Regions from separate parts of the Homo sapiens genome. Here all the other regions are linked to region 3. The links are contacts of gene promoters, found by promoter capture Hi-C in blood cells and fetal thymus (Javierre and others, 2016). All regions are on one chromosome and are shown on one strand. The core of a region is centred on a gene start or on the middle of the fragment in contact, and the rest is flanking DNA. Distances in the headings are between cores, read along the strand shown. Region 1 holds the start of PLA1A (phospholipase A1 member A). Region 2 has its middle 51 kb from the start of IGSF11-AS1. Region 3 holds the start of B4GALT4 (beta-1,4-galactosyltransferase 4). Region 4 overlaps CFAP91 (cilia and flagella associated protein 91). Region 5 overlaps IGSF11 (immunoglobulin superfamily member 11). Region 6 holds the start of ADPRH (ADP-ribosylarginine hydrolase). Region 7 has its middle 70 kb from the start of IGSF11-AS1.

Region 1 (3,474 bases), core at 805-3,304, 360 kb after region 3:
GGAGCCTGCTGGAACTGCAGAGTCCTGGGCCCAGTTCCAAAGATTCTCATTCTGTGTGTCTGGGGTGGATCCAGCAATCTGTCCCAAGTCAATTGGATGGTTGTGAGGCAGGGGGTTCTGGAAGGGACCACTCTGACCCCGCTTGGAGAGCTCTGTGCTAGATGTTGGATGTGAAAGAAAGTGAAAGTGCTCTCTCAATGTCAGCTGTATTCATGCCATGCACAAGGGCACCCTGGATTAACTATCTCTGGCCACGGTGTGGGTGGCTAGGAAAACAGCCCTCAGTTCTCCTGCTGTAGGGAAAATGATTGACTGATGGCTCCAGCTGCTGTCTTCTGAATCTACCTCTGTCTTTGTGCTGAGGCTGACCTCAGCTAATGACTAAGCAAGATGTGGCTGCTAATGCAGGCTCATTTCTACAAAACACATCTGCTGTCACAAAAGACTTTGGCCTGAGGAGTCCCCATTGGCCTGGTCAGAATATTCTAGAAACTGTGCTGCAGCCTGAGACTCTTCCTATGTAATCCTCTCTTTCCTGCCCATTCTCTTTCACAGGTATCAGATGTTCACCACCATCTAAAGGCGCTTCCTGGCTTCTCTAGTACCTCTTATTCTTTACAGGTGTTAGCTCGATAAATCTCTTGCATATCTTGTCTTACCTTGGCATCTTCTTCTCCGAGGACCTGAACTCATACACTTGGCTTGGTCTCTAATATCAAGACAGCTTTCAGTAGTGACCTCTGCTGTGCACTACTTATTGCCACACCCCTTCCTGGTTGCAGCAGCACTTGAGCAGTGAGATCATGTGCACAAGGGGATGTAAGGGCTAGCCCCTCCAAAATAATTGTATCCTGCGTTCAGCCATGATGACATGGTCCCAGAGCCTCTTCAGGAGTTGTTGCTGTAGAGTATCGTTGCTCAGAGCATGGATTCTGGGGCTGGCTCATCCCGCTTTAAATCCCAGCTCTGCATGACCTCAGGCAAATGACTTAAATTCTCTGTGCCCTACCAGCTGTGTAAAACACAAATGTTTGTATTTAATACAAATTACTTCTATCACAGAGAAGTAATTTGTACTTATCTGTGCTTACTAACTGTGTAATTGTCACAGTTAAGTAATTTGTATACAATTATAATACAAATAAGTAATTTGTTGTACAAATTACTTAACTTCTCTGTGATAATACTCACCTCAGAGAGTTATTGTTTGGAAAAGATGATCCTGGCCCTGCCAGTGGGCTGTCTACCTCACAGCAATGTGTTATGATTTAGGGAGTGGGGGGCAAGTGCCCTGCCCTCTGCCTCTGCCCCATTGACTTGCCTAGAAATAGCTCTTTGTGGTTTCTGCCACTCTTTGGGGTGGAGAGGCCATATGGTGCTGGAACCATCTTGGTTCCAGGCCCGGCTCTGCCACTTCCACCAACGGGATCTCTACAGGTCATTTTCTTTTTCTAATATGCAGTTTCTTTGTGAATTCAGGAAGTTGAACATCTCCAAAGTTGGACTTGACTCCTAGCCCCAAGATTCTACAAAATGATAGTACTCTCCAGAGGAAACTTTTTCTTCCCTTCTTCCCTTTAAATGGACACTTAATATATAGTATTATCTCAGTCTTGTGCTAGGCACTGGGTATTCAAAAATGAAAAGAGAAAGCCTTTGCTCTCAAGTCACTCAGAATCTTCTAGGGAGACACACATGTCCACAGATAATTCCAACACAATGAGGGGTTTCTGGCCACCCAGAGATGCAGGACTTCTGCCTTGGTTATTACTAACATCCTATCACGGGAAGTGGGAGAGGTGCAGGAAATAGTTTCCTGATCATGTTTGGCTCAAAGAGGGACAGTGTGTTTCAATGCACTCTGGTTAACAAAAAAGAAAGTGTATTTATTTTCATTGAGAAGAAGAAACCGAAAACTCTGGCATTTAAATAAATAAAGAAGAATTTATTTTTCCTTTTCAGGTCATGAGGCTAGTTAATGATTAGTGAAATCCACGTGGGTGTTTTCTGAGAGGCTGGGTTATATGATCTCTTTGGCTTTAGGGAATTACTCCATACCAGCTCTGAGATTTCCAGCTCAGCGATGCCCCCAGGTCCCTGGGAGAGCTGCTTCTGGGTGGGGGGCCTCATTTTGTGGCTCAGCGTTGGAAGTTCAGGTAAGCCAGGGCTCAGGCCTTGGGAGGAACTTATTTCAGTCAGTGATCATATTTCTCCAACTACTTATGCAGTACTAACTTTTGGAAGATCCCCTAAAAGCCTTTTGCCTCTTCTGAGGTGAATTTAAAACAGTAGGGGAAAAAAACCCCTTTTATCATAATCGGAATGATGGTAAACAGGTCACAAAACCTGAACTTTCCCTGGTTATCCGACTCATTTTTCTAAAGCCCACATAAAAAAACCCTTTCTCACCTTGCACAAGCCAGGACCAACTGTAAGAAAATAAAATTTGGTTAATTCTAAGATATTCATTTTTCACCCCATAAATATCCACCATTCCAAGATATATTTAATTTTAAAATTTAGGTTTTCCAAACTAATAATGATTTTGTCACTGAGATTGTTAGATGTCCTTTCTAATCCAGCAACCTAACTCAAGTGGTTTGTCATCCTGGCTGGGTGATGGGAACTAGTCCCTGCTAACCTCAGATGCCCCTGGGAAAACTTCCCTCAGATGCCAATTTGCATTTACCTTTCCCCCAGTAAAGAACTGACCCACTGATCCCTCTTGCCTAACAGAAAATTAACCTGCTCTACTTTGGGTTCTCAGAAGTTCTCAGAAGACTCCTTCTCACTATGGTGAGGTCACCCTTAGAAAAATCCCCTCCCTCTACTCACAATAGCAGGCTGCTTTTCTGTCTTCTCCGCTGGACATTTAATTCTCATTCCCTGGCTCTAGAATATGTCATTGCTTCTGCCTGGGGTTGCTCACATCACCTTTGGATTGATTTCTGTTCTTTGCATCTTTCAAGGGGGCTTCTGTATTCCTATCTCCCTTGTACTCATTCTTTTTCTGCTCAGCACCCCTCCCTGCTACAAAGTTCCACTGGGTGACTGCATGCTCTCCTTGCACTCATGGGTGGTTTTTCAGAGGTGCTGTTGAGCTCTGTATGTGCTTTCTCCTACCTCAATTAGTTGTCCCTAAAAGGTGAGGATTTGAGGCTTCTGTCTCTTTTAGCATAGTTAGTGCTGTGCTCTGTATAGAGCAGATGTCCAGTGAATATTGCAGACATTGATGCTTAGAGGAGGCAATGGGCTGAGCTGATGGGGAATAGGCTCTGTCTGGGTCGGGCTAACCCAGACTGGAATCCTGGCTCTGTTTCTTTGTAGCTATGTGACCTTGAGGAAGTGGCTTTCTTTACCTGTAGCTAGAGATGATCCTTACCAGATAGGAATGCTGTAAGGACTGAATGGGATCATCTGTGCACAGGGCCTGACTTTTGCAGTTGCTTATTCCTTTGTGATTTTATTATTAGC
Region 2 (3,283 bases), core at 89-2,588, 350 kb before region 3:
CCCATATAAACTTAGGCTAGTTACTTATCACTTGTACCTCGGTGTTATTATCTGCAAAATGGGATAGTGTTTGTACCTATCTCATACAGTGGTTGTGAGGATTAAAATGATTTAATAGATGTAAAATGCTTAGAGCAGCACCTGACACATAGTTTCCTGTTACTCGATACTATTCAGAAGAGGAGAGCTCCAAGCTGGATCCACCCATGAAGCTGCTGGAAACAAGTCTGCTTAATAACAGATATTGTAAATACTGGACCACAGGCCACACAGACCCACAGGAATGTATAATTAAGCAGGATTTAACTTAAAAAAATTCATTGCCGACATATACAATCCAAGAGAGATACAAATAAGCATTTCTGGCTTCTCTTGAAGATTCAAGAGACCTGGCCATCCTGGACCCAAGTCCTACTGACCACTCTTGGTGGGAGCTGAGTAGCTGCTAACCTCTTTAGGCAGGGCATAAATCTCCAAGTCACCATGCTCCCCATCTGGCCCAGTTCTCTCATTTACTTTACCTTCACAGGCATTTCAGGTTGTGATCTCTATACTAAAGGGATTGGGGCTCAGAAATCACAGCCTCGCCTCTACTTACATCATAATACAGGATCAGCACTGTGAAGTTGGAGGGGTGAACACACCTTGATCTCTGGATGACTGAGAGAGGGGAGGTGAAGAAAAGAGTTACAACCTGGTTGTATGTGAGACTCAGGTCTTCTCTAATCTCTCCAGTAGAACTTCCGTTTTTCTCCTTATAAAATTCAAATACATGACTTAAAAAGTAAACCAGTAACAGCTACAATTTATCTATACCATTTTATATACATTATCTAATGGTATCCTCAGACCTATGATGTAGCAATTATAATCTCCATGTTATATCCCCAGAGAGGCTAAACAGCTTGCCTCAAGTCAGTAGGAAGTGACGGAGCTGGGACTCAAGTGCAGGCCCAGGGTAGCAAAAGGCATCCTTCTACGTAGAATTTCCTCCAAATTCACCATGTCTTCAAAGACCTCTGTGTTCCCCTCAAAACTTCTCGCCTACGGGAATTTCCTCAAACGCATCCTCCCCTAGCAATAGCTCTGACTGTAGAGCTGAAGGTGGTAAGGGAACTAGTGTTTTACACAAATTGCAAATGCCCTAGGAAAGTGATGAGAAAGAATTAAACGGCTGTGAGACCCCCCCGAGTGTGCAGAAATTAAGAGGAGAAAAACTCAAAAAGCTTGACCGCATGGAAAAAATTATTCTAATAGTCTTATAAGTCAGAGATGGTAATTTTATTAAATAATTTTTTTAATGGGCAAAGAATGACTAGAAAGAATAAAGAACTCTTGTCTATGCCAGGCCAAATTTGAGGCAGTACCAAGACCTTTACTATTTATTGGCTATCTTAATGGAAGGACAGTATATGGCAACAGATGAGCAATGCCCTTGGCTCTACATCTTACAAGCTTTATGACCTTGAGCAAGGTACTTAACCCATGAAAGCCTGTTCCTTCATCTGTAAAATTAGCATAATACAGTACTAAAATTGAAAGTGTTGAGGATTCTATGGGATATACACAAAGTGTCCAGTATGCTGTCTAGCATACAGTAGGTGCTCTATAAATGCTGATGTTCTCCCACCCTCTTAATTATCCTCAGCGATTTGAAATTGATAGTAATCAGAAGATAAGTGTGTTATTTTGGAACAAAATGTGAGGAAAAGGGAAATAGGAGAAAGTATTTGGGTAGACAATAATTACCGAGGCTTCTCCTTTCTCTTAAACAAAAAAATGTCCCAAATTGCTATTTTATATGCAGTAGCACTCAAATAGTACTTCTGGCAAAAAGAGTTGAAATACTGAGTAGGTGTAAATGACATAGCTATTGCCTAGAAATTTAAAGCTTCTGAACTACTACGAATAATGGCAAATATCAAGTGTTTACTATCACCAGACACCATGATATTCATCTTATGTGCATTATTTCATTTAGTACTCACAATCTCAAAGATAACTATTATATTGTTTCTATTTTGTAGATGAAACTGAGCCTTAGAGAATTTTGTAGTTTGTCCAATGTAATGGACAACTGAAGCTCATTCATATATATATATATACACACACACATACATATATATATATATATAGGCATACAATCTTGTCCAAGCCTCAAATGCAAAACTGCTGCAAATCTGATAAACTGAGGGAGCAACTGATGGATGATAGAGAAATATGGCTTCAATGTAAGTTATAATAAGCTAAATTATCTATTCTAATCTGACCTCCTAAAATTAATCAGGTATCAACTGACCTCACTGTGTTAAATACATAGTAGGCACTATACTTATTGCTTTGTTTAATAAACTTGTCTCTATCATTAATGTCTTATGATTAAGTCAGAATTTTGTGCCTTGCCTTTACCTAAAATAGGGAAATAATACCTTCTTCACAAGGAAGCTGTGAGGAAAAGCTATAAATAGCTGTATACACATAGAATTTACAAGTCAACTTTTCTCTGAATTGCATTTATTGTCTCAGCATTTTTTCTGTGAAGTTGAATATCATCTTACTTAACACAAGTGATTTGTCCAAAAGAGGGCTATTTGAAGGCAAAACGACGAGGATCCCAGATCTTTCTTTTTAGACATTGGTTCAGTCAGACAGAAATATCTACTGAGAAAAGCAACTGACAGATTACTGAATAGTCTGGGAAAAATGTTTAACCACCTCAGTTTCTGAACTTGTAAAATATGAGTGATGATAGCGTCCATGTAGAAGTGTGATAAAATTAAATAAATTAGTACTTGAAATGCATTTTTTCATGTACTGCCATGTAATAAGCATAACAGATATTTTCACACAAAACCCTTCATAATTACTTAAGATTCTTCCAAACCACTGCATTAAGAATGTTATCTCCACAGCTTTCCCAAACAATACTGCATCTCTAATATAACATCAAATGCCCCCAAGGAACTGGCACAATCATTTGCCACATGAGTAAATGACTCTGATGTGGCCTTGCTTTGGGAATATTCTAATATTTGACTGCTACTTTTAACACTGAAGTTAAGAGACCAAATCATATATTTTCAGTTTCATGAATTTAGCGCATCCTTCAAGCACTTTCTCTGAATACAGCAACGTGTTAAGTGTTGTGACCACAACCAAGATATAGAAGTAGTAGTCCCATATGCTTGAACTTGCATAAACATCCACTCATATACTTACACGACTTGCAACTACTTGCTCACAGATGTGGATCCCTCCTGCAATATGGACTTTTTGAGAATAT
Region 3 (3,635 bases), core at 1-2,500:
TCTATCCACTTCCCCTTAGATTATGTAGTCAAACAGTTCAATCCAGGTCAGTACTTTTTCACAACGTATGTTTTCAATCTGATCAAAGCTATAGGTAGACGAAAGTTATTGCAATTTCATGGGGTTTACAATTTCCATAAAGAACAAACCTGCTCTAGAAGACAAAATTCCAAAAACTTCTGAACTATATCCAATCAAGCATTATCTCCTCTCCCAAGAGAGACCTTCCAGCACTCCCCGCCTGGGTCTCGGGAATAGCCCTCCCTTCTGAATCCCAGTTTCTCAATCCGGACCCTGAATCCTATTCATCCTGATCTCTCCTTGATTTTCTTGCATCTTAAAGGTGTTATTTTCCTTTCTTTAAAAATTTAAAAAAAAAAAAAAAAGCCACAACTCGCCTCCACGCTCAGATTACCATTTTCTTTTTCCTCCTTTTCATCACCAAACGGCTGAGGAGGTCTACCAGTACCCTCACCACCGCCACGTCCCCATCCCTCACCCACTCTGGAACACTTTGCAACAGTGTGCACACCCACCCACTGTTGATAACTACTCTCCTAAGGCTACCAACCCATAGGCCTCTCCTCGATGCAGAGTCCTTTGGACTTTGTCTGTTTTTTTTCAAACCAAGAATTAACAGCCCTTATCTAATGGAAGACAGAACATCAAGGGATACAGATCAACAAACACTGGATGGCTGTCTCCGAAGTCTTTTATAATCCAGGTGACCAACCCCTTTGGAGAAAGGTCAAAGGTCGCCGGCCCCTCGCAGGACTGGGGCTGGTGTCAGCTGATCAGTTTCCCCGTTGAAACGCTGGAGAAGGAGGGTTTCCAGGAAGAAGGGGCTTTTTCAGGTTGATGCACCCGGCGGAGAAGTGCTGGGGGCGACCCCGGAATCGTGACCTGGGGTATGAATGAGCCCTGGATTTTTTCCTACCCGGCAGCACCTCGTCTGGCTCCCCCGGCCCGCAGCAGAGGCGGCGCCGCGCGGAACGCCAGCACCTGAGCCGGTGCCTCCCGCCAGGCTCGGCCTCCGTAGGCCCCCGGCCCGGCCCACCGCTCCGGCTGAGGCGGGACTGCCCCACGGACGCCGCCACGTCATCCCCACGCCCGCCCCGCTACAGCCCTGGGACTGACCCCGGCCGTCGCCCGGCTACCCTCGCACGGCGCCCGTGTCCAGGGAACTGCATTTCCCGGGCGCCGGCGGAGCCAGCGTACTCACCCCGGAGGCGGCCGCGGCGAGCTAGCACTGCCCGCGGAGAGGGGAGAACGCGGAAAGCAGCTCGGGGACCGCCCCAGCCGCCCGGGAGGCGGCTCTTGAGTACGAGCTCCGCCTCCCGCCTTGGCCGGAGAGGCTGGTCCGCCCGGCTCTGCACGCGCCTGGCGCTCCACCCCCGCCAAATCGACCACACCGGGCGCTGGAAGGAGCACCGGGAGGGAAACGGAGGGTTGACGCCTCGGCCTCTGGGTGGCTTTAAAACCCTGTGCCAATAGTAGACTGGGTGCTGAGCGCTTCCCAAATTCCATCCCCTTAAATACTCACAAAGCAGTAGGAAAGAGATAGGGACCCTTCCATTTTACAGAGTGGGAAACTGAGACTTTAGAGAGGCTAATAAACTTAATCACCCTGCGAGATTTCAGCCCTCTCAACTGCAAAAATGATAATAATAATAATAATATTTTTCCCATGTTGCAGGTCTGAGAATATTAAATGATTTTTTTAAATCCGTATTTCTTCAAAGATATTATTACAGAAAGCAAAGACAATTATATTTACACTAAAGATTTGAGTGAAAAATTATGGTAGGCTCTGTTTAGGCAGTCAGGATAGCTAGATTCTCTAATGCAGTCTCCCACTGCACTCACGGGAAAGTAGTAGATTCTCCAAGAACCACACATCCACTCCACCCAAAAAGGAACAAACCATAGCTAGAGCCAGTGCTGGGCTCATTAAGCTTCATAGCAGGAAATCTGAGGCTATACTGAGGCCGCATAGGCCCAATGTAGGCCCTTGGAAGCTGGAAAAGAGGGCCACCTAGTGGCAGTTGAGGATAGGTCAGTGAAATAGGTCAACACTGCTCCTGAACAAGGTCCAGTGTGAAACTTATTTTTTTGTGTTCCCTTTGTAACATGCTGTAAGGGTGTATAACCACATTTAGTGAAAAAGGACATTACTGGATTTCATCCAGTGGCGTTATACAATCAGTTACTTATACCCACATAGTCCCCAGGTCTTGAGCATATGATGCCTGGAAGCATAATATATACCTTTTGCAAGAATCACTCAGCTTTTCCCCTCCCCCTCCCCCTCTCTGTCTCCCTCCCCATCTCCCTCCCCCCTTTGCACGGTCCTCGTCTCCCCTTTGCATGGTCTCCCTCTGATGCCGAGCCGAGGCTGGACTGTACTGCCGCCATCTCGGCTCACGGCAGCCTCCCTGCCTGATTCCCCTGCCTCAGCCTGCCGAGTGCCTGGGATTGCAGGCGCGCACCGCCACACCTGACTGGTTTTCGTATTTTTTGGTGGAGACGGGGTTTCGCCGAGTTGGCCGGGCTGGTCTCCAGCTCCTGACCGCGAGTGGTCTGCCAGCCTCGGCCTCCCGAGGTGCCGGGATTGCAGACGGAGTCTCGCTCACTCAGTGCTCAATGTTGCCCAGGCTGGAGTGCAGTGGCTTGATCTCGGATCGCTACAACCTCCACCTCCCAGCCGCCTGCCTTGGCCTCCCAAAGTGCCGAGATTGCAGCCTCTGCCCTGCTGCCACGCCGTATAGGAAGTGAGGAGCGTCTCTGCCTGGCCGCCCATCATCTGGGATGTGGGGAGCCCCTCTGCCCAGCCGCCCAGTCTGGAAAGTGAGGAGCGCTTCTTCCCGGCCGCCACCCCGTCTAGGAAGTGAGGAGCGTCTCTGCCTGGCCGCCCATCATCTGGGATGTGGGGAGCGCCTCTGCCCCACCACCCCGTCTGAGAGGTGAAGAATGCCTCTGCCCGGCGGCGACCCGTCTAGGAACTGAGGAGTGTCTCTGCCCCGCCGCCACCCCGTCTGGGAGGTGAGGAGCGTCTCTGACTGGCCGCCCTGTCTGAGAAGTGAGGAGCCCCTCCGCCGGGCAGCTGCCTGGTCCGGGAGGTGGGGGGCAGCCGCCCAGCCAGCCGCCCCGCCCGGGAGGTGGGGGGGCAGCCCCCGCCTGGCCAGCCGCCCCGCCCGGCAAGTGGGGGGCAGCCCCCGCCCGGCCAGCCGCCCCGTCCGGGAGGTGGGGGGCGCCTCTGCCCAGCCGCCGCCCCGTCTGGGAGGTGGGGGCCCCTCTGCCCGGCCGCCGCCCCGTCTGGGAGGTGGGGGGCCCCTCTGCCCGGCAGCCCCGTCTGGGAAGTGAGGAGCCCCTCTGCCCGGCCACCACCCTGTCTGGGAGGTGTACCCAACAGCTCATTGAGAACGGGCCATGATGACGATGGCGGTTTTGTCCAATAGAAAAGGGGGAAATGTGGGGAAAAGAAAGAGAGATCAGATTGTTATTGTGTCTGTGTAGAAAGAAGTTGACATAGGAGACTCCATTTTGTTCTGTACTAGGAAAAATTCTTCTGCCTTGGGATGCTGTTAATCTATAACCTTACCCCCAACCCCCTGCTCTCTGAAACATGTGCTGTG
Region 4 (3,470 bases), core at 610-3,109, 470 kb after region 3:
CTAAGAACGTATCCCCATCATTAAGCAACACATCTCTATGCTTGCTTCCTTCCATCTGACAGAAAGCCTCTTGTGTATGGATTTCTCTTACTATGATAGGGACTAGGGTGGCGTGCTTCTTGACTAATTAGCCCTAAAGCTCACCACCAATTGTATAGCGTCTTTGTGTATTGTAGCTGAAAATTTAAGTTAGAAATTTAAGATTGGTTGTTGGCTGGCCAATGAATTGACTGGCCTTGGGCCAGGTTTCCACCTTGACAGAACTGTGGTGGTGCAAAGATGAACACCTTTCCAGGTTCTTTTACCCTTCCTTATGAAGCCCTATGTGATTAGTTCCCTAGTTACTTCTCTGGCCTCTTATCTACTCTCTTTCCCCTCCTTCATTCTGCCTCATTTGTCCTGGTTTCTTTGCTATTCTTCAGACGTATCAGGCATGTTCCCATCCTAGGGACTTTGCTGTTCTTCAGATGTATCAGGCATGCTCCCATCCTAGAATGTTCTTCAGATATCTAACTAGCTAACTCCCTCACCTTCAAGTCTCCTTACATGCCACCTTCTCAAGGGCCTGCCCCGACCACCCTAGTTAAAATTGCAACCCAATCTTCCTTACCCGATTTCTTCTTTTTTAAAAATAACAACCCTCAAATTCTAATGTGTAATTTGCTAGTTTATTATGTTTGTTGTTTGTTGTCTCTCTCTCATGAAGTCAAAGATTTTTGTCGTTTTGTTGATGTATTCTAAGCACCTAGATAGAGTAGCCAGTCAATAAACATGTGTTGAATGAAGGAGCAAAAAGAGCCTGAGCCTCTTGCAGCTTTTCAGCCTTGGTGGGAATATCCAATGTCTGCATTCAGTAAATCGTATTTGTTGGGTTACTAATGAATTATTAGGTTTTAGGAATTGACACACATTATCCAAATTCAAAAGAGACTTGTTTCTAAATCACAATTCCCAAATTATTAATTTCTATGGAGAAATATGTGTTACCATGTTATCTAGACTAGCTGGTCAGGGTATTTGCCTCCCCAGAGACAAGTCTACTTGGGAAATCAAGTGTATCCAAAGGCTGCTTGTTAATTTAATGGCAAATCAGTTGATTTTAAAGGGTGGTACAGTATAGTCAATCATGAATATTCTTCATCACTTTAAAGATATACCTGATAAACAGATACTTATAATAGCAGGGCAATATTTTGTTGAACTTTGTAAAAATAACAGTTCCATCATCAGCAAACTTACAAACTTAAGGGGTGAATTCTGAAGATAGCTGATTTTTTTTTTAACCGTGTTCACCAATTCTGAGATATCATGTGGTTTGCATCTTTCTAGTGCACCAAATATGGGAGATGGTATAAATGTATTGCTTCTTTCACTTGCAAATTGGCATAGTGCGTATATACAAGGTCTTTCCCTTGAAGAATTTTTTGGGTTACCCAGGCTCAAAAGGAGTTTTGTTCATAGGAGAGAAGAAAGTGTGTTCAGGGTGTAGTACTTGAAAACATGCTAGACTTTCTTTATGAATTCCACTTCCGTAAGCTGACTTGGAATACTCAGAAAAGAAAAACATCTTGACAACTGTTGCTGGTAGAAGTGGTAGAGTAACAGGGCCACATGCACAACAGAGCATGAGCTGCTGCAGAGTCAGACAATATTTAAACTTTTAAATTTGTTTTCCAATTAAGAGATTACATTACTTTGCCATTATTCTCAGCCTAGGGGTAGATATGTTCTATCTGTTATGCTACTTGATTGTTTATTTTGCAGATCCATTGTTTATTGTGTCAAGTGAGAAAGACCATACACAGGCAAATATCCAAGCTACCCTGATTCGCAGCAGACTGGTATGTCTAATTCATCAGCCAAGGCTACCTGATGAACCTGAACCATCTAGTTTGCCTGACTGCATTGATCAGATTGACTAATCACCAAATCTTCACTGGATTTTAGGTTCCACAGAAATTACCTTGCCAAGATTACTGGAGGGCAAAGCATCTTAATACGTGTGGCTCATTGTGAGGATTAAGTCACCAATAATGAACAGAGAACCCATAAGCTAATTTATTTCAATGGGATAAATTTAATAATATATGCCCATGTTAAAAGAATTCAAGTAGTATAAAAGCATATACAGTGTGAAGTAAATTCTAGCCCTATCCCCTACCCCCTCCACATAAACAGCCATTGTCATCAGTTTCTTGGGCATGTATTTAAAGATATTTTACGCATACAGCAATAACCCCTCTTCTTATGCTGTATACATTGTTTTGTATGTTTTTAAAAAGAGTTTACAATGTAATTAAAATGCTTTAGAAAAGCTGATGGTATAATTTTGTCCTTTGCCTCCCTTCTCTAACATTAGAGAAAAGTTCCCAGGTTTAAAACCATGTTCAGTAACCTGATCCATTATCCAAGATATTCTCTATATTGGAGCAAGTCAGATCCTGTCCCACCATTTATCAGTCGGGAATGGAAGGGACATAAGGAGAAACACAGAGAAGCCCTCCGGCAGCTCACCACGTAAGTGTCGGGTGGCTCCAGGGCCTAAAATAAATGCATTAAAAGCATTTCTTTAAATTCATTTACCATGTGTGGTTTTAAAATGTTCAGTTGTGGTGTTATACCTAGGCCAAATTTTCTTTCTAAACCTCTTTTGACCAAACAAACCTGATTATATATTGTATATATGAGATATATATATATATATAATTTTGTCATATATATAATGACAACTTGCCACCAAAGGTAGGGATGATTGAGTTTGTTGTTGCTTGGATCCAACTTAGCAACTGAAAGTGCTCTGTTCTGCTAGTATCTAAAATATTTTTTGGGAACTTGGGGCCAAAGCACCTTCAAGAATAAGTCGAATTCTTTATTCTTTTAATTACTTACAAGTTCACATTTAGTAAATTAAAAATTATAAAGCCTTTTAACCTGGACATAGAAAAAGTGTCTTTTGGCCAGGCACAGTGGCTCACGCCTGTAATCCCAGCACTTTGGGAGGCCGAGGCAGGCGGATCATGAGGTCAGGAGATTGAGACCATCCTGGCTAACACGGTGAAACCCCGTCTCTACTAAAAATACAAAAAGTTAGCCGGGTGTGGTGGCAGGTGCCTGTAGTCCCAGCTACTTGGGAGGCTGAGGCAGGAGAATGGCATGAACCCAGGAGGTGGAGATTGCACCACTGCACTCCAGCCTGGGTGACAGAGCGAGACTCTGTCTCAAAAAAAAAAAAAAAAAAAATTGTCTTTTAATATTTTGCTATTCTTGTGTGCTTTTAATTAAAATTGGGCATTTTTGTATGTGGGATTTCATAAATCCACTCTTTTCTCAGCTCTTGCTCTGTCTGACTAGGTTCTGGTCTCCTGGCTCAGGGGAAGAATCATATATACTCTAAGTTGTATGGCAGTCAAATGCAGGTTATGGAAGACTTTACTCTCAGTATGAGATACTCTGTGTAGGTCCTACTCTAT
Region 5 (3,346 bases), core at 847-3,346, 310 kb before region 3:
ACTTTATACCAAATTCTGCTTTATGGTGGAGAAAGTTAAACTAAGGTTCAGGTAAAAGCAGAGTGGATAATAATGTAGTGAACATTTCACAATCATTAAGGCAGGACACAAAAAACATGGAACAAAAATTACCAAAAAGAACACTAAAGGAAGAAGGTGGTGATATATAGTAACAAGGAAAAAAACAAAACAAAACCATAAACTAAGCCCATGGCTTGAAGTTTCATGCTGGGGAATACAGATGGTAGAGTTTAAGTCTAATTTATGATTTATTTGTAATGCTAATGACTTTTCAGTAAATATGTTCACCCTTTCCAAAATGAATAAATGAATGAATGAAAAAATGAATGCAGAGTATACACAGGAATCAGGAAAAAAAAAAGTGGGTAGGGGAAGAGAGAACAATAAAAGGATATAGGTAGGAAGAGTAAAAATCTTAGAGAATCCTAACTACTGCGGTGGGGCAAACTAATCTTTGTTTGCCTTTGTCATTGCCACTGTGATGCCAGGAAGAGAAACCCAAAATAATTCTTTGGAGGTAGCATTAATTATAAAATAAATTAAGGGCTTTTTATCTTCTTTTTAAAAATGATGCTGAGAAGTTAAGTCTGGACAAACAAAAAAGAAATAAGGTTGGATAATATGGGAAGCCAGTCACCTAACTTACAGGTCTAAGTATCAGAATATTTAATTCCATTAGTACACTATACTCGGTACTCAGAGTATTTTATAATCTATACAATTTTTAATATAATACAATGAATATGGTTTTGAGAATAGAAATCCCCGACTTGGTCATCAGTTTTTTTATTCTGTTTGAAGGCTGGGAGAAAAAGGCACCAAAGGCCGAGGGAAAATGACAAGAATTCCCAACACCTGTATTCTTAAGTGACTCAACAACAACGAAGGAAAAAGAAAGCGGGGGTGGAGTTTGACAAGGACTGCGGGAGTAGATTCTGAGACTTGAGTAGGATGGAGGAGAATCAAGAACATCAACCTTCTCAAAACGTCTTCCATCTCCCCAGATGAACTGAGTTTAGCCACCTCTACCACAAGTATTCATTTAGAAAGCAGTATTTTATATTAGAGACAGAAGAATTGAAAAATAAAACATGCTTATAATGGATATTAGTGTGAGACAGTCTAACAACATGGTGTAATGGAAAGAGTGCTGGTTTGAGTAAGGAGATCTAAATTTTAATCTAAACGTTGTTGTTTATTTTCTATGCAATCTGGGGAAAAAAAACCTAAATCTATTTGGTCTCAGTATTAAGGTGATAATATGATTTATTCTTCAAACAAGGATACTTGGGGGAGTAAAAGGAGGTATTATTACAATTATGCCAGGACAACACGTGCAAGCCAAGAACTGTGGTGATCCTACTCGGTGTTACACAGATATGAAGTAATAGTATTATTCTCACACATGCTAAAACTTCTGCTCTGTACTAAAATAAGTCATTCTTGATTTAATTTGCTCTCAACAATAAGTTCTGTACTGTAGAAGCTTAAGAAAAGTGAGAGACCACTTCTGATGGTATTTGATACCATCTTTCTTCACCTTCAGAAGAAAGTCATTAAATAAGTAAGTTTTAGAGACCGCCGGAAATGAAGAAAGGAGGGGGAGACTATCTGTAAGAAGCATGGAGAAGGAGAGAAGAGATGGAACTGAGAGAAGACAGAAAAAGAACATAAGCAGACTGAAGGTGTAGAAACAAGGGCAGAAGCAAGTATGCTTGAGAGTAGCTTCGTGAGTAAAGCCCGAACAGCCAAGGACTCTTGTGTCACTCACCTAACACTGTGAGACCGGTGACCCCAATGTTCCTGCCCCCTATGTCTGGAAGGTTGTTGACCAGGCACTGGTAGGTGCCAGTGTCTGATAACTGAGTGTTATTAATGAAGATAGAGACATTGGTAGCTGGCATGGTGCCTGTAAATCCTACCCTACCGTGGAACCGGGGGGCACCATCAAACATCTGTCCACCCTGATACAGGATGACCTGGAAAAGAAAGCAAAATAAATAAACTGGCCACTCTATCCTCTCCTAGACACAAAACAATAACTATTTGGTAGACAGTACCAAATGCTGCACCAAACATTGGAAAATTTTATTTCTAATATGATAATTATCATCAACTTTTTTTTTACAGTATTTGTTCATAGGTATCTTGGGGTTTTAAATTCTCACATAACAAATTAGAATAATATTTTTTCCTTACCTAACACATCAGAACATAAAAAAAGTCTTTGCTGCTGCCCACCCTACTATCAGTTCATAAATATTCTTACCAGTTCAAAAAACTGATTCCAAAACAAAAATTAAAAAATATTAGCACTGCCATTCTCATGCTTATTAGGTCACACAATGATAGATCATAGGTACAGACTGAATGTAAATAAATGTCACAGAAGGGAAGTAGAGTTACAAGTCCATGATTACTGTTCTTATGTCAGCCTCTACTATCAAAGTTAAGTCTTCATGGAAGACTTAGAATGACATAACAAAAAGCCCTTTGGGCTGCGAGTGAGGGACTCAGTTCTATTCAAGCTCTACCTGTAAATGTGTTTAGTAACTCTACTCAAGCTCTTTACTTAAACTCCATCCTTGATTCCTAAAATAATAAGGTTGAACAAAATGATCTTGAAGGCGGAGTCTAACTACAAAAATTCTATGAAGAAACAAAAGAAGCTTCTATTTAATTTCATATCAGAAAATTTAGCTTATCAAATATTTTGAGGTAATAATAATCTTACTGAAGGAGAAAAGCTCCATTAACATTGTAAATAAAGGTGTAATCATTATCACAATTCATTAACTTCCTGAGCATTATTTTCTGCAGTGAGTTCTACAAATTATGTGTCTTTTTCCTGTAATTGATACAGCTTACTGGGGAGTAGCTTCCATTTTCATGTACATTCTTTCACGTACACATTCTATTAATAATTTATATGAGACTCTTTGAGCTCACTAACATGGCTAGTCATGTTTTACTTTAAAATACTAGTGAAATTAACTTAAAAAAAATCAAGTACTACAACCTAATGTTACTTCCTTACTATTATCACTATCTTTTAAAAGTATGCTCTCAACAATCTGTGATGGTGCCAGTCCCTTCTGGTCAAAATTGCCTATTAGCAATGTTGTTGATAAAATTACAGGTTCCTACATAAACCTCTCAGAAGGATATTCTTAACATCTGTTACCTTTTTAAAAAGAGGATAGCCTCTTCTGATAAGTGACTGATAGGGCAGAGGAGTAGGCCTTAAAAGAGTACACGCACATTGACAATGCCACCTTATTCTCGAAACCAAAGATGTACTCATGATGCTTCCCTACCAACCTCC
Region 6 (3,750 bases), core at 563-3,062, 340 kb after region 3:
TTTGACAGTTGAAAGAATGAAGGATGTGCCATCCCCAAATATGCCATATAATATATTGATTACTTTGAGTTGAAAACATTAGAGAAATTATAGTTTCAGAAAGGGTAAAACTGAGGGCTGACCTGATTAGGCCTGACACTTAATTTGCCTTGCTTGCTTTTGGTCACTTGCTTCTAGTCGATTTTAAAACCTGCATAGCTAAAAGTCATGTAGCTAGACGATACATAACTAAATTCCACTTGCCTCCTTATAGATAACTTCTCTGATAGGACACCATGGAAAATATTGCTTAAGTTATTTTTCAGGAACTTAGAGTCAGTTCTTGTCCAGTTCAAGCCACCAGCCCTTCATCTTGGCCTGCGTGAGTGTCCAATGGGTGACCTTTTGACATCAGAAGGCCCAAAACTCCACTCTCAGATCATGCTAACGTCACGATTTTGTGAACATGTGTTCTATGAACAGCCATGAAGATTGACTATGCTTGCTCAGATTACCGATTGCCTCACTTTTCCTTACCTCATCTTTCTCTGAACCTTGGACCACCTTCCTCCCCTATCCCATAAGCACTCCTAAAATTCCATCTTTGGAAAGGCACATTTGAGGCCTGTTCTCCAGTCTCCTGTCTTGGCTGCCTTGTGAATACACCCTTTCTCTACTGCAAAACTTGTGCGCCTCAGTGATTGGCATACTGTGTGAAAGACAAATGAGCCTGGTTCCCTGACAGGAGCTGAGCTGTCTCTTCCTGCATGCAGCCAGCAATAAAGATTCCTCTAGGAGAGGTATGTTCTCCACGCCAGAGCGAGAAAATAGCTCTCATCACCAGAGATTTGGAACTGGAGGTGGCATTTGGACTGGAGTAAACATTCTTGCAAAGTAACCATTATCTTCCACCTGTTTTACACCCCACCCCCCATATATCTCCTAGGGGCTCCCCTAGAAATTTTTTACCACCCTAGCCGGATTTTCTTTGTCCTGTCACTTCTTCTTAAATTTATCACTCTTTTTCTAAAAAGTATAAAAGCATCTTGCTTTGGACACTTTCTTCAGGATTCAGTCTCTTAACATCCCCATGTACATGTAAAATTAATAAAATTTGTATACTTTTCTCTTGTTAATCTGCCTAGTGTCAATTTGGCTTCTAGATGCAGCTGATTAGCTCACTAAGAGCTAGAGGGTGTAGGGGGTTGGAGGTGATCTCTGCCTCCCTTATTGGTGAACTTGATTTTTGTAAACACTCAAAAGTCACTTAGGCTAGAGTTGGAGATGGAGATGGTTATTCACTGGGAAGGCCACAAGAGAATGTTTTAAAGTGATGGAAATATTTCATATCTCGATTATGGTGTAAGGACATTTCATTATATATAAATTATATATCAATTTTTTAAAAAGCTCTCAGACCAAGGCTAGTCATTACAGCAAGAAAATAGGCATAGCAAATTTAAAACTTTGGAGAAATATATAGAATATTTGCATATGGTGATTCTGATTTGCTTTAAAAGTGACATGATTAATGTATTTAGACAAAAATACTCTTCGTTTTTCTTTGCTTTTATTTACGATCAGGATACAAGAATTCTACGCTGCTGCCAAATAAATGACTAGTTAAAATTAACTAACTGAATCCTTAACAACCATTCTAAGAGGCAGATATTATTATCCCACTTTATGCGTGAGGGCCCAGAACCCTGGCAAGGGCGGCACACTCAGTACGCTCTTCAAGCATCTGGGCACACCCGGTCCACTACAGTCCTACAAAGTCGGACGTGAGCACGGGCGAAGGCGTCAGCCGGGGCCACACGGGAGTCACTGACCACAGCCAGGCGAGAGCCGGCTTTCCGGTGCCGCCACATTCCGGGCACCAGGCTCCGGGCTCTTCAGAGCATTTGGGGCGGGCGACGGAGGTCCCGTCCACTCTCGCTTGGGTGCAGAAGGGCGCGGCGGTGCCAGGAAGCCGCCTTGGAGGCTCCAAGATTAGCTCACTCAGCGCGGCCAAGCGCAGGTGCGGGGGCCCTCGCCGCCACCCTGCTTATCTGGGGACAGTCCCGGAACCCGGTGACCCGGCTCCGCCCCAACCCGCGCCCTCGTCCACCCGCAGCAGCCAAGGCCTCTTCCCCGGCCCCGGGAGCCCGCGCCACGCCCGTCGCTCGCGCGTTCCAGTCCAGGCTACAGCAGGTATCGCGATCCCGGCCCTCGGCCCCGCGCTCCCCTCCCCCGCCCCTGGCGCTCTCCGAGTGTGGCCGACCATGAGGATTCCCAGTCTTGCAAATCGTGGGAGCGTGTCAACCGCCCCGTTTCTTTCCAAAGCCGGGCATGGCCCGGAAGCAGCTGATCAGATCTTAGTTCTGAATGTATAGTTCGGGTACGAGAATGTGACCCGTGAAAGTTCAGAGGAGTTAAGTAATTACAGCGTTCTGAAAGCGAACGTTAAAGGGAATTTACAACCGAAAAAAGATGCCGGTCTTCTTCCCCCATCCCAGCTTGCAATTCACAGAAGCACACATTAGGGTGGAGCCAGAAGGAATTACGGAAAGGACAATGAGGACATTGAGAGGGAGGGTATGGGGGGTTAAAGTTAGTCCTCCGAGGCCAAGAAGCAGAGTGTCTTGGCCTAGTGTCTGAAAATCGCAGCGCAGGACGGAACTTCCGAGAGCCTATACCTCCCCACTTCCCCCTCCAGTTTACAGATGGGCAAACCGCTGTCCCGGGTGTCTGTCAGGTCTAGTAGCCCAGAATCTCAGTGCCTAGGCTTCACTGTAAATAATAAACTATGTAAATAACATTTACAAATATCCTTTGTGAGCTCAGAAACTCAGCATTACCAGTAACTGGGTAGTGGAACGCATCCATCTTCGTCGTTTACTCCTTCTCCAGGGGCTCTCCAGCCTGCATTCCATGGCCAACAGCAGTGCAGCTGCAGAAGCACTTCTGGAAGCCTCCTGACTTGAACTAGACCTTGGGTAAATAGGGTTTAGATAAGTGGAGGGGAGGGAAAAGTTTCACCTGAGGGGAGAATGAGCTAGTCTGCCAGACCCTTATAAAAGTATTGGCCTGGATGGGATGGAGGGCTTTGACCTGAAAGCCACAGGGAGAAGGGAACCCTGAGGAATTGGCTGAAAGAGGGGGGTTCTTAGGAAATGCACCAACAGGGAAGCCAGCGCTTTACCAGGGATTTCATTCATGGTGGGTATATTATTAATAGAGATTCGAATTCTCTAGAAGCTGATCATTTCTAAGAGAAACAATATTTAAACATTACTGTCGAAGGAAAGGTTGTGGGGAGAAAATGTTCTAGTTCTAAAACAGAACACCCATTTTCCCTGGTTGTATATGAATAATACAAATATGTCAAAAATCAAGCTTACTATGTGCCAAGCACTCTAAGAACTTTTTTTTTTTTTTTTTTTTTGAGACAGAGTCTTGGTCTGTCGCCCAGGCTGGAGTGCAGTGGCACAATCTCGGCTCACTGCAACCTCTGCCTCCTGGGTTCAAGCGATTCTCCTGCCTCAGCCTCCTGAGTAGCTGGGACTACAGGCATGCACCACCATACCCGGCTAATTTTTGTATTTTTAGTAGAGATGGGGTTTCACCCTGTTGGCCAGGCTGGTCTCGATCTCCTGACCTCAGATGAGCCACCCACCTCGGCCTCCCAAAGTGCTGAGATTACAGGCGTGAGCCACCGCGTCCAGCCAACTTTATGAAATTTAATTTATTTATTCCTAACAACAAATCCAGGAGGTTGTTACTTTTTAA
Region 7 (3,418 bases), core at 543-3,042, 370 kb before region 3:
CTGGATATAAGACATGAAGTCAAAGGAGATTATTTCGGAGCTTTAAGGTTTAATGACTGTCCTTCTGTGTTTTGGACTTGCATGGGGCCTGTAGCCCCTTTGTTTTGGCCAATTTCTCCCATTTGGAATGAGAGCATTTACCAAATCCCTGTACTTCCATTGTATCCTGGAAGCAACTAAATTGTTTTTGATTTTCAGGCTCATAGGCATAAGGGACTTGGCTTATCTCAGGTGAGACTTTGGACCTGAATTTTGGGTTAATGCTGGAATGAGTTAAGACTTTGTGGGACTATTGGGAAGCATAATTGGTTTTGAAATGTGAGAAGGACATGAGATTTGGGGGTGGGGATCAAGGGCAGAACGATATGGGTTAGCTCTGTGTTCCCACCCAAATCTCATGTCAAATTAGAATCCCCAGTGTTGGGGGAGGGGCCTGCTGGGAGGTGATTGGATCATGGGGCTGGATTTCCTCCTTGTTGTTCTCATGATAGTGGGTGAGTTCTCATGAGATCTGATGGTTTAAAAGTATGACACTTCCCCCCTTTCTCTCCTGCTCTGCCATAGGAAGATGTGCCTTGCTTCCCCTTCATCTTCCACCATGATTGTAAGTTTCCTGAAACCTCCCAGTCATGCTTTCTATACAGCCTGTGGAACTGTGAGTCAATTAAACCTCCTTTCTTCATAAATTACCCAGTCTCAGGTATTTCTTTAAAACAGTGTGAGAATTGACTAATAGCGTGTTTCCTTGGGATCAGATGATCAGGAACATAGGGAGTCATCAGACTTACTGAGAGAATGAAAAGAGGAAATGTTTCACCTATCTCCACATAAAGTGGAAGGAAGAGAATGTTTCACACATAGTAGATAGAAGGATAGACTGGGTGGGTGGCCTGCATGACCAATAACACATCAGATTAATTTGTTTTATAATCAGCAACTTCTAGTATATACTAATCAACTTTGATCACTAGAAGTGTTGATAAAAATAGTCTTGAGTTCAATTGAGTTCCAATATTCAGATTCACAAACTTTTTTCAGCATCTACTATGTGCCATGTGTGAGGCCTGGAAAAACACAAATAATTATGAAATAGTTACCACCTTCAAGAAGCAAATAATTACAAAATGGTTCCCATCTTCAAGGAGCATAGTCACAGGACAAAATTAATTTGAATATGATATGTATATCCTATGATAAGTATACATTATCTTATATAATCACAGAAGATTTATTTTCCTGTCTTGGGCAATCAAAAAAAGCTTCAGGAAAAGATATCTCCTAGGAAGAGATTTTTCTATTCTTCTGTGGTGGAGATTCCTATTTTCATCATATCCTTTCACCATGAAAGTTAGGTTTCTAAGATAAGCAACATAACTTTCCTGAAGTTTTGTCTCAGAGCTATTAAAATAGAGATGTTGAAAGAGTCAACAAAGCTGTAATGTGAATGTGAAGATCTACGGAAAACTGATGTTAGATTGTGAACTCCTGACATAAAATAATTTGGAGGATGACTACTAGACATCATTTCAAGCTGTGGTGACCTTATAAACTTATTGCCCAAATTAAGACACTCTGAGAGTAATTGAGGGACACTATTAATAATTCCTAGGCTACAAATATAAACTGAGACTAACCTGAGTGAGCTGGTAATAGGGTCACTCTAGTGTAAGGCCATATTTCCAGTCATCTGGGAAATAGTAAAGACTTCTAACAACATACTTTGTAATGACCACTGGTCTTCCATATCACATTGAGGTTAAACTGCTTGTGAGGGATTTTTGAATAATATTCTGAAACATAAGATTAATTTTTGGCCTTGAAATTAAGCAACTTTTAAATGTTAAGTGCTATTGTCTGAATGTTTTTCAGAATTCATATGTTGAAACTTAATCCCCATGGTGGTGTTGTTATGAGGTGGGGACTTTAGGAAGATGATTAGTCATTCCGGCTCTCCTCTCATAAACAGATTAGTGCCTTATAGAAGATCTGGAGGGAAGTGGCTTAGGGTCTTTTTGCCTTTTTGGCCCTGCAAATATGTGAGGACACAGCAAGAAGGCCCTCACCAGACACTGAATGCTGGTGCCTTTATCTTGAACTGCCCAGCCTCCAGAACTGTAAGAAATAAATTTCTATTGTTTATAAATTACCCAGTCTGTCGTATTTTGTTATTAGCAGCACAAATGGACTAAAACGATGAGACTAAGATCACATCTGAATGGACCATTACTTAGAACAGGATGTGACCAGAGAGGAGGGTCCAGGAGAGCACTCAGCACAGCCACAGGGGACAGGCACTGGGGAAACTGAATCAGCCACTAATGCCAACAAAGCTTCCTGATCTACAGCACTCCTAAATCTTAGCTCATGTAAATACTCACCAGTGGCTGAGAGAGAAAGAGGAGGAGGAGCACAGGTAAAATCGGAGGCTATCTCAATTGGTAGGCAGAGACAATTGAAAAAGAATACAGGATAGGTAAGACTCAACAAGTCAGGTCAGGAATCCAATATCTAGATGGTATTAAAGCCGAGCCACAGCCTTGAATTCTGCCTGGAGAGACCTAAATCACAAATTCAATTAGTGGTACTGTGGCACTGGGGGAATGCAATAGTCTTAAATACAATGTTGACTTTGCACACATTTTAAAATATGTATTTATAACAATGAGACATTTCAAATAATAGTGATAGTGGCTAGTGTGCATTGAATAATGTTTCAGTGACTGTTCTAAGTGCTTCACATCTTAAATGCTGTAAACTATTATCCTCATTTTGCACTTGAGAGACTGAAGTATTGAGATATGAGCTGTGAAGTCTTGGAGGACACGGGAAGCAATGCATTTACCATTGTTGCAATTTTGTCACTTAAAAGGTAGACTTGGACAGACAAGAAATACAGCTCTTTTAAGGCAATGCCATTTACTTAAGAAGCACATAATGAAGGATTTGAGATTATCCTAGAGAGTGTCTCAAAGGGTAATATTTTTTAAATTTTTCCAACAATAGTGAGAATTTCCTGTTCACTTACACAATGCTAAGTTTGGTGCATTATTATAAATGCCCACTTTAATTAATACAATAGTACAATGTAGTTCACCTAGAATTAATGGATGAGGTAGGAAGCAAACTTGCTCCTATTTCTCAAAGAGGTGTGGAGAGAGACAGAAGTTAGGGAAAACTTTCTAATAAAAAATCAGCTGTTGAAATCAAAGAAGCTTTAGCATGAACCAAATTGCTAAGAACCAATGGCAAATTAGAAGAGGTTAACTAGGTGCTGGGATCCTAAAAAGAGATCTACCATCCAGAAACTCAGACTGGAATTTGATAACCTTCTGAGAAACATCAGATTATTGTTAAAGCACGTTCCAATAAACTAGAGCTCCTATTTGGCTCAGGATGAATGTTTTTAATTTTGAATACT

Evidence for each region. The method cuts DNA at HindIII sites, captures the fragments that hold promoters and counts their contacts. A CHiCAGO score of 5 or more calls a contact.
Region 1: the fragment with the promoter of PLA1A here is called in contact with the fragment with the promoter of B4GALT4 in region 3 in 2 of 17 cell types (erythroblasts and monocytes); the score reaches 5.9 in erythroblasts.
Region 2: a fragment that was not itself captured here is called in contact with the fragment with the promoter of B4GALT4 in region 3 in 12 of 17 cell types (total CD8 T cells, naive B cells, total CD4 T cells and 9 more); the score reaches 16.8 in total CD8 T cells.
Region 4: a fragment that was not itself captured here is called in contact with the fragment with the promoter of B4GALT4 in region 3 in 6 of 17 cell types (naive B cells, megakaryocytes, erythroblasts and 3 more); the score reaches 6.1 in naive B cells.
Region 5: a contact is called between a fragment that was not itself captured here and the fragment with the promoter of B4GALT4 in region 3, in 2 of 17 cell types (activated CD4 T cells and naive CD4 T cells). The highest score is 5.7, in activated CD4 T cells.
Region 6: a contact is called between the fragment with the promoter of ADPRH here and the fragment with the promoter of B4GALT4 in region 3, in 5 of 17 cell types (megakaryocytes, erythroblasts, total B cells and 2 more). The highest score is 5.5, in megakaryocytes.
Region 7: a fragment that was not itself captured here is called in contact with the fragment with the promoter of B4GALT4 in region 3 in 10 of 17 cell types (naive CD4 T cells, total CD4 T cells, total CD8 T cells and 7 more); the score reaches 8.8 in naive CD4 T cells.

What each region holds. Positions count from the first base shown.
Region 1 is chr3:119,595,831-119,599,304 of GRCh38, forward strand. It overlaps PLA1A (phospholipase A1 member A), which reads left to right and starts at 2,055. Exons shown (of 11, transcript NM_015900.4): 1 at 2,055-2,156. The coding sequence starts at 2,084. RefSeq lists an enhancer at 2,734-2,923. The HindIII fragment of the contact is 18,763 bases long and covers 1-3,474 here.
Region 2 is chr3:118,890,730-118,894,012 of GRCh38, forward strand. No RefSeq gene overlaps it. Among named protein-coding and RNA genes, the nearest start is that of IGSF11-AS1, 51 kb to the right of the region's middle. The HindIII fragment of the contact is 229 bases long and covers 1,225-1,453 here.
Region 3 is chr3:119,239,628-119,243,262 of GRCh38, forward strand. B4GALT4 (beta-1,4-galactosyltransferase 4) reads right to left here and starts at 1,251. Exons shown (of 8, transcript NM_003778.4): 1 at 1,223-1,251. The region is part of intron 3 of B4GALT4-AS1 (B4GALT4 antisense RNA 1); the gene reads left to right. RefSeq lists silencers at 938-1,417, 2,068-2,117. The HindIII fragment of the contact is 11,429 bases long and covers 1-1,953 here.
Region 4 is chr3:119,705,045-119,708,514 of GRCh38, forward strand. It overlaps CFAP91 (cilia and flagella associated protein 91), which reads left to right. Exons shown (of 18, transcript NM_033364.4): 2 at 1,765-1,841; 3 at 2,360-2,517. Among named protein-coding and RNA genes, the nearest start is that of CFAP91, 3.8 kb to the left of the region's middle. The HindIII fragment of the contact is 4,731 bases long and covers 1-3,470 here.
Region 5 is chr3:118,926,717-118,930,062 of GRCh38, forward strand. It overlaps IGSF11 (immunoglobulin superfamily member 11), which reads right to left. Exons shown (of 7, transcript NM_001015887.3): 3 at 1,793-2,000. Among named protein-coding and RNA genes, the nearest start is that of IGSF11-AS1, 15 kb to the right of the region's middle. The HindIII fragment of the contact is 1,183 bases long and covers 1,506-2,688 here.
Region 6 is chr3:119,577,680-119,581,429 of GRCh38, forward strand. ADPRH (ADP-ribosylarginine hydrolase) reads left to right here and starts at 1,813. Exons shown (of 5, transcript NM_001125.4): 1 at 1,813-2,172; 2 at 2,872-2,957. RefSeq lists enhancers at 1,417-1,918, 1,703-1,802, 2,743-2,962 and a silencer at 1,983-2,122. The HindIII fragment of the contact is 4,349 bases long and covers 1-3,355 here.
Region 7 is chr3:118,871,769-118,875,186 of GRCh38, forward strand. No RefSeq gene overlaps it. Among named protein-coding and RNA genes, the nearest start is that of IGSF11-AS1, 70 kb to the right of the region's middle. The HindIII fragment of the contact is 1,071 bases long and covers 1,258-2,328 here.